2 separate regions of the Homo sapiens genome follow, and region 2 is linked to region 1. Evidence: promoter capture Hi-C in 16 types of primary human blood cells and fetal thymus (Javierre and others, 2016). All regions are on one chromosome and are shown on one strand. Each heading gives the region's core, a stretch centred on a gene start or on the middle of the fragment in contact. The rest is flanking DNA. Distances are from core to core; before and after follow the strand shown.

Region 1 (6,290 bases), core at 2,449-4,948:
AAAATAAATAGAAGCTGCCACTTACTGTGTTCCTAACTGCCTAACCCTGGCAGATGCTGGGAGCGTAGAGTAAAGGCGCCGTGGTTCAGGGAGAGAGGGGGCTGGTTCTCACCTCTGGTGGCAGCTCAGGAAAGATATTTGATGAAATCAAGATCTGTCTACCGAACACTGATAAAGGCTCTATTAGAATTTACTGGACTTCCCCAGAGTGCCACAGGGAGGCTGCTGCATGAAGAGGCAAAAATGTTAAACGAGGATGCAGCACGGAGTGTTCAAGGGACACAGACCTGAGGCAAAAGACAAAGCTGGAGACGGGCATTTTGCAAATTTGAAGCCAACTGGCTCACAAAATGAAAGAGGCTGTTAATACCAAGTGTGAAGGTGGGATGGCATCACCAGAGCTGGCCAAGTTCAGAGAAGCTGGAAATCTCAATTTGGATGTGACGTTATTAAATGATGACAACACACGTACACTACATGGGCCAACCATGGGCGAAATTCAGACTTTGGGTCTCTGGGTTACAGGTAAGGTCGTGACAGGCTTTGATGACTGGGGGTGCTGCAGAAATTCTGAAGTAGGTGACAACAGGTAGCTCCTCCCCACAGAATTAAAGCAATAATAACTCATATCTACCCCATGATACAGATTTCAAAGTACTTAATGTCATCACAGTGCTAAGGCCTAGGAATCCCCTTCTGGAGACAAAGAAACAGATTCAGAGAGCTGTAGAAGTTGGGCTGAGTCACATAGCAGTTGAGTATGGAACTGATTTTATCTGATTTTTTTTTTTTTTGAGACAGAGTTTTGCTCTTGTTGCCCAGGTTGGAGTGCAGTGGCGCAATCTCGGCTCACTGCAACCTCTGCTTCCGGGTTCAAGCAATTCTCCTGTCTCAGCCTTCCGAGTTGCTGGGATTATAGGCGCCCGCCACCACGACCGGCTAATTTTTTGGATTTTTAGTACAGACAGGGCTTCTCTATGTTGGCCAGGCTGATCTCGAACTCCTGACCTCAGATGATCCACCCGCCTTGGCCTCCCAAAGTGCTGGGATTACAGGCATGAGCCACCGCGCCCGGCCTTTTTTTTTTTGAGGTGGAGTTTCACTTTTGTTGCCCAGGCTGGAGTGCAATGACGCGATCTCAGCTCACCGCTACCTCTACCTCATGAGTTCAAGCAATTCTCCTGCCTCAGCCTCCCGAGTACCTGGGATTACAGGCATGTGCCACCACACCCGGCTAATTTTGTATTTTTAGTAGAGATGGGGTTGCTCCATGTTGGTCAGGCTGGTCTCGAACTCCTGACCTCAGGTGATCCGCCCGCATAGGTCTCCTGAAGTGCTGGGATTACAGGCCTGAGCCACCACGCCCGGCTGATTTTATCTGATTCTAAAGTCCTGGGAGTCCCCTGACCTGATGATGATGATGAAAATGAACATTTACTATGTGTCAGATATTTTTCTAAGATTAAAGCTCTTGCTCTGAGGTTCAGAATTCAGGGGATCCATAAACTTGGATGGGAAAAAATTATATTTTTATTTTTGCTAAACTCTAACCAAAATTTATGATTTCCTTCTATATGGATTGAAGCAGTAGCAGTATCTTTGGCTTAGTCACCAATAGAAATCACATATTTTCATATCAAATTGTAGTTATTGCAAGTATCTCAAAATATTTATGCTCAAGTGATTTCAAAATCACAGTGGTTGTTAAACCACCACTAAATTGTTCGTGAGCAACTTCTGTTTCAGATGCTCCTGTGATGTAGCCGCCATTAATTGGTTACCTCCAGGCTTAGCAGTGGTTCAGTGACCAAAGGGCGAATCTGCCTGTTCTGAGTAGGGCTTCTCCACTCTTCTGCATTCCCTGTCTTTTTTTTTTTTTTTTTGAGACGAAGTCTTGCTCTGTCGCCCAGGCTAGAGTGCAGTGGCGCGAACTCGGCTCACTGCAAGCTCTGCCTCCTGGGTTCACGCCATTCTCCTGCCTCAGCCTCCTGAGTAGCTGGGACTACAGGCGCCCGCCACCATGCCTGGCTAATTTTTTGTATTTTTAGTAGAGACGGGGTTTCACCATGTTAGCCAGGATGGTCTCGATCTCCTGACCTCATAATCCGCCCGTCTCGATTATAGGCGTGAGCCACCATGCCCGGCCCAGCATTCCCTGTTTTTAGTTGTTTGCTGATCAATATGTAAGAGGAGGGGCGTCAAAGACCACCCCACAGTTTAATGTCCTTATTCAAGCTGGTCGACAACACACTGAGGTCATTAAAAAAGAAAAATTTAACTTTCGGCCAGTCTTATTAATGTTAGTAAACACATAATATAAATTTCTGGTTTTATTTTTTTGAGATGGGCTCCTGCTATGTTGCCCAGGGTGGCTTTGACTCCTGGGCTTGAGTGATACTCCCCCGCTCAACCTCTCAACCTCTCGAGTAGCTGGGACTACAGTCGTGTGCCAGCACTCCCCAGCTCCAAATTTTTTTTTTGTTTTTTGTGGGTTTTTTTTTTGAGACGGAGTCTTGCTTTGTTGCCAGGCTGGAGTGCAGAGGCGTGATCTCAGCTCACTGCAACCTCCGCCTCCCAGGTTCAAGCGATTCTCCTGCCTCAGCCTCCTGAGTAGCTGTGACTACAGGCGTGCACCACCACACCCAGCTAATTTTTGTATTTTTAGTAGAGACGGGGTTTCACCATGTTGGGCAGGCTGGTTTCCATCTCTTAACCTCATGATCCACCCGCCTTGGCCTTCCAAAGTGCTGGAATTACAGGCGTGAACCACCATGCCCGGCCAAATTTGTTTTTAAATATAGTTTTGATAATTGTTCTCATTGTAATCCTAAGCATTTTGTTTTGTGCATTTATTTATTTATTTATAATACAGAGTTTTGCTCTGTTGCCCAGGCTGGAGTGCAGTGGCACGATCTTGGCTCACTGGAACCTCCCCCTCCTGGGTTCAAGGGATTCTCCTGCCTCAGCCTCCTGAGTAGCTGGGATTACAAGCACCCACTACGCCCAGCTAATTTTTTGTATTTTTAGTAGAGATGGTGTTTCACCATATTGGCCAGGCTGGTCTTGAACTCCTGATCTCAAGTGATCCGCCCACCTCGGCCTCCCAAAGTGCTGGGATTACAGGCGTGAGCCACCGCGCCCGGCCTGTTTTATGCCTTTATAAGCAGCTATTCTGAGAAAGCATTCACAGGCCTCACCAGATGCCAGAGTCCATACTGCAAAATCCAAGGGAGGCTAAACACCCCAGTTCTAAATGTTTTCAAGCCATTCAGATACTGTGCACAGCTGCCCTTTGAAGTACGGTCTATTATATCTCTTTTACAGACCCAGAAACTGAGGCGCAGAAGTTAGGGTCAGCCCCAGGTCACACAGCTAACAAGAGCTGGCCTAGGCACCCAGGGACCTGGCCCCCTAGCCTCTGTGCTTTGCTACTGATTTCAGCGCTCCTCTTGTGGCTTTTTCTTGAGGAGCCCAAGGGTCAGGGTCCCACCCCGCGATATGAGGCCAGTGGCACTGCCCCCTAGCAGGCGCGAGATGCCAGAGCCCTAGGATGTCTGAAGGGCCGGGCAGGAGGCGGACGGGCGTGGGCCAATGGCTGTCGCAGTGCCTCATCTTGCCGTCTGTGTGAGCCCAGGTATGCAGTAGGCTCCGCCCAGGACCCAGCCCGGCCCCTCCTTAGGCCTGGGCTCTGGGAGCGGAAATTCCGGCGACAGCAGGGCAAAACAGGAGCTGATTCGAGCTGGCAGAGCTGGGCCATGGAACCGGTAGAGACCTGGACCCCCGGAAAGGTGGCAACTTGGCTGAGAGGTGGGTGGGGCTGGGGTAGAGTTGGGCTTGAAGGGGACTAGGTGTGGTGTCCCACCGGGAAGCGGGAGGAGAGGAAAAGGAAAAAAAATCTGCGGACTGGGTGCGCTGGTTCACACCTGTAATCCCAGCACTTTGGGAAGCCAAGGTGGGTGGGTCACCTGAGGTCGGGAGTTCAAGACCAGCATGGTGAAACCCCGTCTCTACTAAAAATACAAAAATTATCTGGGGGTGGTGGCAGGTGCCTGTAATCCCAGCTACTTGGGAGGCTGAGGCAGGAGAATCGCTTGAACCCAGGAGGCAGAGGTTACAGTGAGCCGAGATTGCACCGCTGCACTCCAGTCTGGACGACAGAGCGAGATTCAGCTCAAAAGAAAAAAAAAAATAATAAACTGCGGGCTCTATCAGTCGGTCAGTCAGTCAACAAATATTTACAGAGCACCTAACATGTTCCAGGAACCGTGCTGGGCAGAGAGACAGATGAGATGACCCTGGGGGGCCCAAGGACCCAGAAGGGGGCCCCTCATCATGGCAGTAGCCCAAGAGGCCTCTAGGGTGATAATGGGGAGGCGGTGTCATGAAAACAGGAGGGAGGCCTGACAGGCCCACACCCACTGTATCTCCTTCATCTTCCCTGGCCCCAGGGCCAGTGGGCTGTTGTTAAATCCGTTTCTTAGAGTCAGAAACTGACACACAGAGCCAGGAAATGATTTGCTCAGTCTCTGGTGTCATTTTCCCCGCTCCACACCCTGAGCTCCTAGTGACAGAAGCAGAAGCCCTAGGCCAGACTGAAGAGGTTGACACAGCCCCACCCTGGGGCTCCTATCCAAGGGGCAAGGTGCTGTCCAGGCTCAGCGAGCCCACACAGATGGGAAGCAACACACCCCACAGGCAGACTCAGAGAAGGAAGGGCCTCCTGACACACAGTGCGACCAGGAGCAGGCAGTCAGGACACCCCTCCCAGAGTGGGGAGCTGGAGCGCACTAGAGACAGGCTCAGGAGGACCAGCCCGGGTAAGGGCAGGAATTCAGGGCTGGGTTCAGACTCCCAGGCTGGATTCCAGGCCCACCCCCACCGCTTGCCAGCTCTGTGACCATAGGTCTTAGTTTTTCTGTCCATCAAATGGGAAAGGCAACTCTGACCTTATGAAGTCGACAAAGTGAGACAATCATGACATAGTTCATTTGTAGCTCAATGCCTGGGTCTATTGGGAGGGCACCAGCCCAATACAGTCACCGTGCAGGAAGGAGGTGGCTCAGGGGCCCATAGCCAGGGAGTGATAGGTTCATGAACTCCCAGTCCAGTGCTCTCAATGTGACACAGGGAACACACACACACACCTCCCCCAGTGAAGGAGCCTGGCTTAGAAGGGGAAGAATTCCTTCGAAGAGTGAGCAAGCTACTTAACCTCTGTGTCAGTTTTCCCATCTGTAAGCAGGATAATGATAGTCTTTACCTCCTAGAAATGCAGTGAGAATCAAATGTGTTAATATGTGTAAAGCTCTTATAGATTTGCATAGCACATAGTAAGCCCTCAATAGACACTTTTCTTATTTTTCAGTGCCTACCTTGTCCAGGCACAGGCCGGGGGTTAGAGACAAATGGTTATCTAAGGCCTGATCTTTGAAGAGCCTGTGATAAAATGGGAAAGACCGATGGTCAAGTGCAGGGGTTTGTGGAGGCTCAGGGGCAGTGGGAACAAGAGGAGAGCCCTCCATCCCACTCAGCCTGGGAAGTTATGGAAGGCTTCCTGGAGGAAGTTAGATGAAAAAGGAAGTGAAGGAGATAGAAGAGCAACGCCAGCAGGAGGAATAGCACTTGCAAGGACGCTGAGGTAAAAGGGTGTTCCAGGAGCTGCAAGGAATTAGCTCTGTGCATCTGAAATGTTGAGTTTAGGGGGCTCTTCAGGATATGATGCTGGAAAGGGAGGTAGTAGCCTAATCATACAGGGCCTGTAGGTCATGGTAAAGTCTGGCAATAATAATATGATGGCTATTATTGGCTGTCTCCCACGAACCAGACAGTGGCCAAGGCCTTGACATATGTTGTGTCATTCAATACACACATGATTAGAAGGTAGGTACTTTTATTATTCTCACATTACAGGTGAGAAAACTGGGCACAGAGCAGTGCTATTACTTGCTCAAGTGTTCACAGTGTCTCAGTGACTCCATAGCCTCTTGTTCTTATCCCCTGTATCATTAGTTCTCAAACTTAAGGGAGCATCACAGTCACCTGCATTAAAATACAAACTGCTGGCTGGGCGTCGTGGCTCACACCTGTAATTCTAGCACTTTCAGAGACTGAGGCAGTCAAATTGCTTGAGCCCAGGAGTTCGAGACTAGCCTGGGCAACATGGTGAAATCCCACCTCTGCAAAAAATACAAAAATTAGCTGGGTGTGGTGGTGTGTGCCTGTAGTCCCAGCTACTTGGGAGGCTGAGGTGGGAGGATGGATTGAGCCTAGGAGGTCAAGGCTGCAGTGAG
Region 2 (6,290 bases), core at 1,534-4,033, 110 kb before region 1:
GTCTGTCACCTTCCCCTGGGCTGGGCACTGCCTGCAGGCAGATGCCTTGGTGAAGGCTTTGGACCTTAAAGGCTGTGAGGTCAGCACTCCTGGAGTCTTACCAGGATGTCCTGATTTGTAAAGATCTTTCCTGGAGCTGTGTCTCTCCCAAATTTTTGTGTTGTGTTGTGTTGTGTGTGTGTGTGTGTGTGTGTTTAGATGGAGTCTCACTCTGTCACCCAGGCTGGAGTGCAGTGGCACGATCTCTGCTCACTACAACCTCCGCCTCCCTTGTTCAAGCAATTCTCCTGCCTCAGCCTCCTAAGTAGCTGGGATGACAGGCACGCGCCACCACGCCTGGCTAATTTTTGTATTTTTAGTAGAGACGGGGTTTCACCATGTTGGCCAGTCTGGTCTCCAACTCCTGACCTCGAATGATCCACACACCTTGGCCTCCCAAAGTGCTGGGATTACAGGTGTGGGCCACCGCACCCGGCCTCTCAGTGTTTTTGTCTGTTTGAGGCATGGTCTCACTGTCACCCAGGCTGGAGTGCAGTAGCACAATCATGGCTCTGCAGCCTTGACCTCCCTGGCTCAACAATTCTCCTGAAGAGCTGGGACTACAGGCATGCCCCACCACGCCCAGCTAGTTTTTAAACTTTGTAGAAACAGGGTCTCACTATGTTGCCCTGACTTGTCTTGAACTCCTGGCCTCAAACAATCATCCCACCTTGGCCTCCCAGAGTGTTGGGATTATGGGCATGAGCCACCATGCCTGGCCCTCTCTCCCCAGTTTGAGGCCAACCCTTCACAACCTCCACCACTCACACATTCTGCCTATGAATGAGCTGCTATTTTATTAGCAGGAAGACTCAGAGCTAGATTGACTGGGTCAACTCCCAGCTCTTTCACTTCCCAGCTGGGAAACCTTAGCTAATTGATTTCACTTCTTGAGCCTCAGTTTCCTCATCTGTGAAATGAGGATAATAAAGTCATGCCTGATTCACAGAGTTATTGGGAGGTACTTAGATGAAGCATTCCCAGTGCCTGACGCTGTTCCTCATGGCACACGGGAGAGTAGCTGTTGCTATCCTTATAGACAACCTGGCTGTTTCTCACCGGGCATTTTCTCTGCTGACCAGAGCCACTTAGCTGGCCCCAGGGCCTTTCTCTCCCTCTCACATCTCATCTTTCCCCCAGTCTCTGTCTTGGTATTGCCTGGAAGGGCAGCCTAATGTCTGGGCCCCTTCCCATCCGCTGAGCAATCCTGAGAGCTGGGTTGGGGTGTATGGGTCTCCAGTCCTGTCTCTGAATGGCTTGTGTAGCTAGTCCAGCTAGAGGCCTGGATCCTGAGCAGATGAAGGAGGGGGAAGGAGCGTGGGGGATCTAGGCACAGCATGGCTGGGAAGGAGGGCGGGCCCCCAGCAGGCACGAGAACCGACCTGGAGCACTCCTGTTTGTAGATGTCGATGATGTTCTCCACCAGCAGGTTCCTCTGCAGGCCGTACACTCCGTGACGATCCATGATCACCTCGTGGCGGCAGGTGGGGCAGCGGAAACGGCCTCCAGACATGGACACTGAGCTGCCCCGGCTGGTCCAGTAGGGATTTGCAGCCTGCAGGTGGCAAAGGTCAAGGTGAGGCCTGGGCTCCCTACTTAGCCCTTCTCTTTTCTAATCTCCTCTTATCCTTTCCTCTGCCTATCCGAACCACCCCCGTCAAACCTAACAACCTGGAGCTCTGCAGACTGTGATGAGAACCAGTCCTCACACACAGAGCACCTGAGAAGCAGCTAAGCAATCGTCAGGATGGGGAGGCAGGAGACCTGGGTTCAAGTCATGTTTATTCTCTGAGTGATTTTGGGCAAGCAACCTTATCTGTGTAGGCCTCAGTTTGCCCACTTATGAAATAGGTATTACAATGAGAGCAAGCTCCTAAGGCTGCTACTTTAAAGATAATATCGTGAAAGAACATTTTGTAAAGTGTCCATGGGGAACCTCGCATCCTGCCTCCCAGCCAGGACATCTACCCCCTTCCTTTCTCGGGGAGTTGGAGCCCCTTCTGCCCCCATATCATAGGGAACAGCCTCAAAAGGGAAGATGCCTCTACTGCCCACTGCCTCCCTGACACCCTCCTCCCAAAGCTCTGGGCCTCTTGCCACCAGGACCTGGCTCCAGCCCCAGGGGTCTGGTTTCTCTCTCCTGTCCCTGCCTACCCCGCTTATCACTTGAGGCATTTGACTCTTGATTGGAGAGTCAACAGCAGTGCTCAGGGCAGGGGTGGGGGAGCTGTGGGCAGGGCAGGGAGGGGAAACTTGTGTTATGGAGAAGAACCGCAGCAGCCAGAGCCGCCTCCCAGCCCCCTCTCAGCCCTGTCCAGAGGCCTCTGCAGGGGTTCACTTCCAAGGGGAAAGAGGCTGTCCAGGTTGGAAGTCTAAGGGAGAAGGGTTTCATCACAGGGAAGCCAAGTAGCCACCTGGGGACCCCAAATGAAGCTGCACCCGGCACTTACCTGGAAGATGTCATTGGCACACTTCCGGCACAGGTTGTGCTGGCACGGCAAGATGACCACTGGCTTGGTAAACATCTCCAGGCAGATAGGGCAGATCAGCTGCTTCTCCAAGTTCTCCATGGGATTCCCATCCTGGATCAGGCTCGACTTATAATCCATTCTGTGGGAAGGAATGAGAGCCACGCCTAGCTGCCTCCTCTACTAACTTTGCTCTAAGTAGACCTGGGGGTCTTGCCTTTGTCACAAAACACCGGGTCGGATCCTGTTGGCTTCCTTCTCCTGGTGCCCGAATTCTGTCTTGGTCTGAGGCCCCTCTGATATTTATAGCTAGATCTTGGTCACATGAGCCCCAGGAGGGGACCAGCTGAGCATTCCGATGCCAAGCGGCTGGTGGGGCTTGAGTTTCCTCCAGGCCTGAAAGACTGGCCCTCTCAAATCACATGCAGGGATGAGCAATCACTATTCTGCTGGGACGGGGGTCATAAACAAGAACAGCCTGTTCAGAGGCAGGCTTAGGGCAAGACTGGGTACCCAGAGCTTCCTCCAGAAATTGGTCTCCCCCCGGCACCAGGCTAGTGGGTCAGGGATGGGACCCAGCAAGTGAGCCACGGGGATTCAAGGGGTTAATAGCCAATGCTATGATGAAAATGTTCGATGAATGAATTTTATTCATTCATCAGACATTTTTCTGAGTACTAGTATATACATCAGGCAACTAGTATACATCACAACGTGACAGATGGATGAGTGATCTGTTTCCCTGCCCCGAGAAACTCACAGCCCAGGAAGGGAGATAGAAAGGATTGTGCAGTGGCACGATCTCTGCTCACTGCAACCTCCACCTCCCAGGTTGAAGGGAGTCTCCTCCTTCAGCCTCCCAACCTCAACCCCCTCCCAGCCCCACGCAACCCCTCACTGACCTAAATCAATTCCATCCCCTCCTCTGGAGTCCTGGGCAGCTCCTAGATGGAAGGGTCGGGCAGCCCCTCTCTCTGAGCCCATCCCTCTGCCTCAGACTTCAGCACAGCATTTTGCTGGAGATGATGGAGACCCCCACTCCAACCAGCCCATCCTCCATCCCTCGGCCACTTATTTCACTTAGTGCTGAAAAGCCTCCTTTGAAACACAGTCCAGTCCCCTCATCTTACAGATTTTGAAATGGGACTAGAGAAGAAAAGGATTATATTCAAAGTCAGTTGGAAAGTAAGTGGCAGCCGGGCGTGGTGTCTCACACCTGTAATCCCAGCACTTTGGAAGGCTGAGGCAGGTGGATCACTTGAGGTCAGGAGTTCGAGACTAGCCTGGCCAACATGGTAAAACCCTGTCTCTACTAAAAACACAAAACTTAGCTGGGTGTGGTGGTACGCGCCTGTAATCCCAGCTACTCAGGAGGCTGAAGCAGGAGAATCACTTGAACCCAGGAGGTGGAGGTTGCAGTGAGCTGAGATCGCGCCACTGCACTCCAGCCTGGGTGACAAGAGTGAAACGCCATCTCCAAACAAAACAAAACAAAACAAAAAAGAAAGAAAATAAGTGGCAAAGACAGAAATTTTATTCATTCATCAGACATTTTTCTGAGTACTAGTATACATCAGGTAACTAGTATACATCACAACGTGACAGATGGATGAGTGATCTGTTTCCCTGCCCCAAGAAACTCACAGCCCAGGAAGGGAGATAGAAAGGAAAAACCCAGAGGGCACAGTGACTCACGCCTGTAAACCCAGCACTTTAGGAGGTCGAGGTGGGCAGACCACGAGGTCAGGAGATGGAGACCATCCTGGCCAACATGGTGAAACCCTGTCTCTACTAAAAATACAAAAATTAGCTGGGTATGATGGCAGGTGCCTATAATCCCAGCTACTCAGTAGGCTGAGGCAGGAGAATCGTTTGAACCCAGGAAGAGGAGGTTGCGGTGAGTCGAGATTGCACCACCGCACTCCAGCCCGGTGATAGAGTGAGACTCTGTCTCCAAAAAAAAAAAAAAAAGAAAAAGAAAAAAGAAAGAAAGAAAGGGAAACCCCTCATGCGGTGCCACAAAGCCCTGCCTGGACACTTAGAAGGCGTCCCTCAGCTCGCTGCACACATTTTAACTTTTCTCCATGTATTTTAGGACATCTTCCACGTTGGCAAGTAGAAGTCATTAGAGCAGTTCCAGTGGCTGGTTTTTTTTTTTTTTTTTCCCGAGATGTAGTTTCACTGTGTTGCCCAGAGGCTGGAGTGCAGTGGCGCCATCTCAGCTCACTGCAACCTCCGCCTCCCAGGTTGAAGTGAATCTCCTGCCTCAGCCTCCTGAGTAGCTGGGACTACAGGCATGTGTCATGACACCCGACTAATTTTTGTATTTTTAATAGAGACAGGTTTTCACCATGTTAGCCAGGCTGGTCTCGAACTCCTGACCTCAGGCAATCCACCTGCCTCGACCTCCCAAAGTGCTGGGATTACAGGCGTGAGCCACTGTACCTGGCCTCCAGTAGCTGTTTTTAAGGTAGCATCTAATGAAAGGACTGTGGGGTCATCTGGTCCAAGGCGATGGGGCAGAGATATGGAGCAGTGGTATCAGGGCCCAAGATGAGCCTAAGAGGCTGTGGAATACTCAGGAGGAGTATGAAGGATTTCAGGAAAGAGGAATGATGGGAGCAATGAGACAAGACATAGAGCAGAGAAGCAAACCTTGGAAGAGAGGAAATGGGAGAAGAAGAGGGACAAGTTACAGAAAAAAGAAGAGGCCTTAAAAACAAAGGGCTGGAGGATTTCGAGGAGAGAGTTGTCCCCCCAAAATTTTGCTGAGCACTTAGGTTTTGCTGAGCACTTACTATGTGCTATGCATTGTGCTAAATGCTTTGTATGCATTATTTCATTTTACCATCTCAATAGCCAATAACAAAAGACCCATAATATCCCCATTCCACAAGTGAGGAAACTCAGGCACACAGGTAAAATAACTTGTATGAGGTCCCACCGATAGCACGAGGTGGCTCTAGGACATGAACCCAAATATGCTTGACTTAGGAACCCAAGCTCCTCATGTAGACTCTATTGAACTGTGTTTAGGTCAAGTCAACACTGACTGAAAAAAGGCCACTTCTTCTTCCTTGCTCATGGGACCTCAGTTTAGTTCAGGCATTGGCAGCATTGTGCTCCAGGAAGATGGCCCTCTCCACTGCCTCAGGAGATGAGTCACACACAGTTTAAGCCTATCATACAACCCCATTCTCTTTTGCCTAATGATGCAGTTATGGTCAATGAGACCCAAGGATATGTCTGTTGGCTAAAGATAAAGGATTTCCTCCACAATAAAAATGAATGTGCAAGAAGAAAGCTTTGTCCATACCTTTGAATGGGGCTGTGAGAGGGTAGAGCAGCTATCTTGCAACCACAAGGGGACAAGGCTGAGGATGATGTCAACACCCTGAGGATAGCATAGAGGAACCATAGGAGGCACCTGGGTTAGAGATGCCATCATTTTGTTGCCAATTTATCCAACCCTAGAGCTGCCTGTCTCTTGACTACTTAAGACGTGAGATTACAAATGCCATTATAGTGTAATTACTCTGTTACTTGAAGCAGTAAGCACCTCATAAACCTGCATGATTCCGACTCCCATATGCTGATGATTCTCAACTCTCTAATTCCAGTTCCGACTTCTCCTCTCTCCCCTAAGCTAAAGATTTGTTGGAGATTTCTACTGGGATGTTCTAATAGTATCTCAAATTCATCATACTCCAGCCAGAATACACCATCTTCCCCGATACCTAGCTCCTCCCTCCATTTTTCTTGTCTCGCATCTTAGTGAACAGC

What was found. Contacts are between HindIII fragments. The CHiCAGO score rates a contact against its expected background, and 5 or more counts as called.
Region 2: a contact is called between the fragment with the promoter of TRIM63 here and the fragment with the promoter of CNKSR1 in region 1, in 10 of 17 cell types (neutrophils, fetal thymus, naive CD8 T cells and 7 more). The highest score is 9.3, in neutrophils.

The regions. Positions count from the first base shown.
Region 1 is chr1:26,173,793-26,180,082 of GRCh38, forward strand. It overlaps CNKSR1 (connector enhancer of kinase suppressor of Ras 1), which reads left to right and starts at 3,699. Exons shown (of 21, transcript NM_006314.3): 1 at 3,699-3,807. The coding sequence starts at 3,756. The HindIII fragment of the contact is 21,071 bases long and covers 1-6,290 here.
Region 2 is chr1:26,064,847-26,071,136 of GRCh38, forward strand. TRIM63 (tripartite motif containing 63) reads right to left here and starts at 2,784. Exons shown (of 9, transcript NM_032588.4): 1 at 2,490-2,784; 2 at 1,422-1,594. The coding sequence starts at 2,648. The HindIII fragment of the contact is 10,936 bases long and covers 1-5,809 here.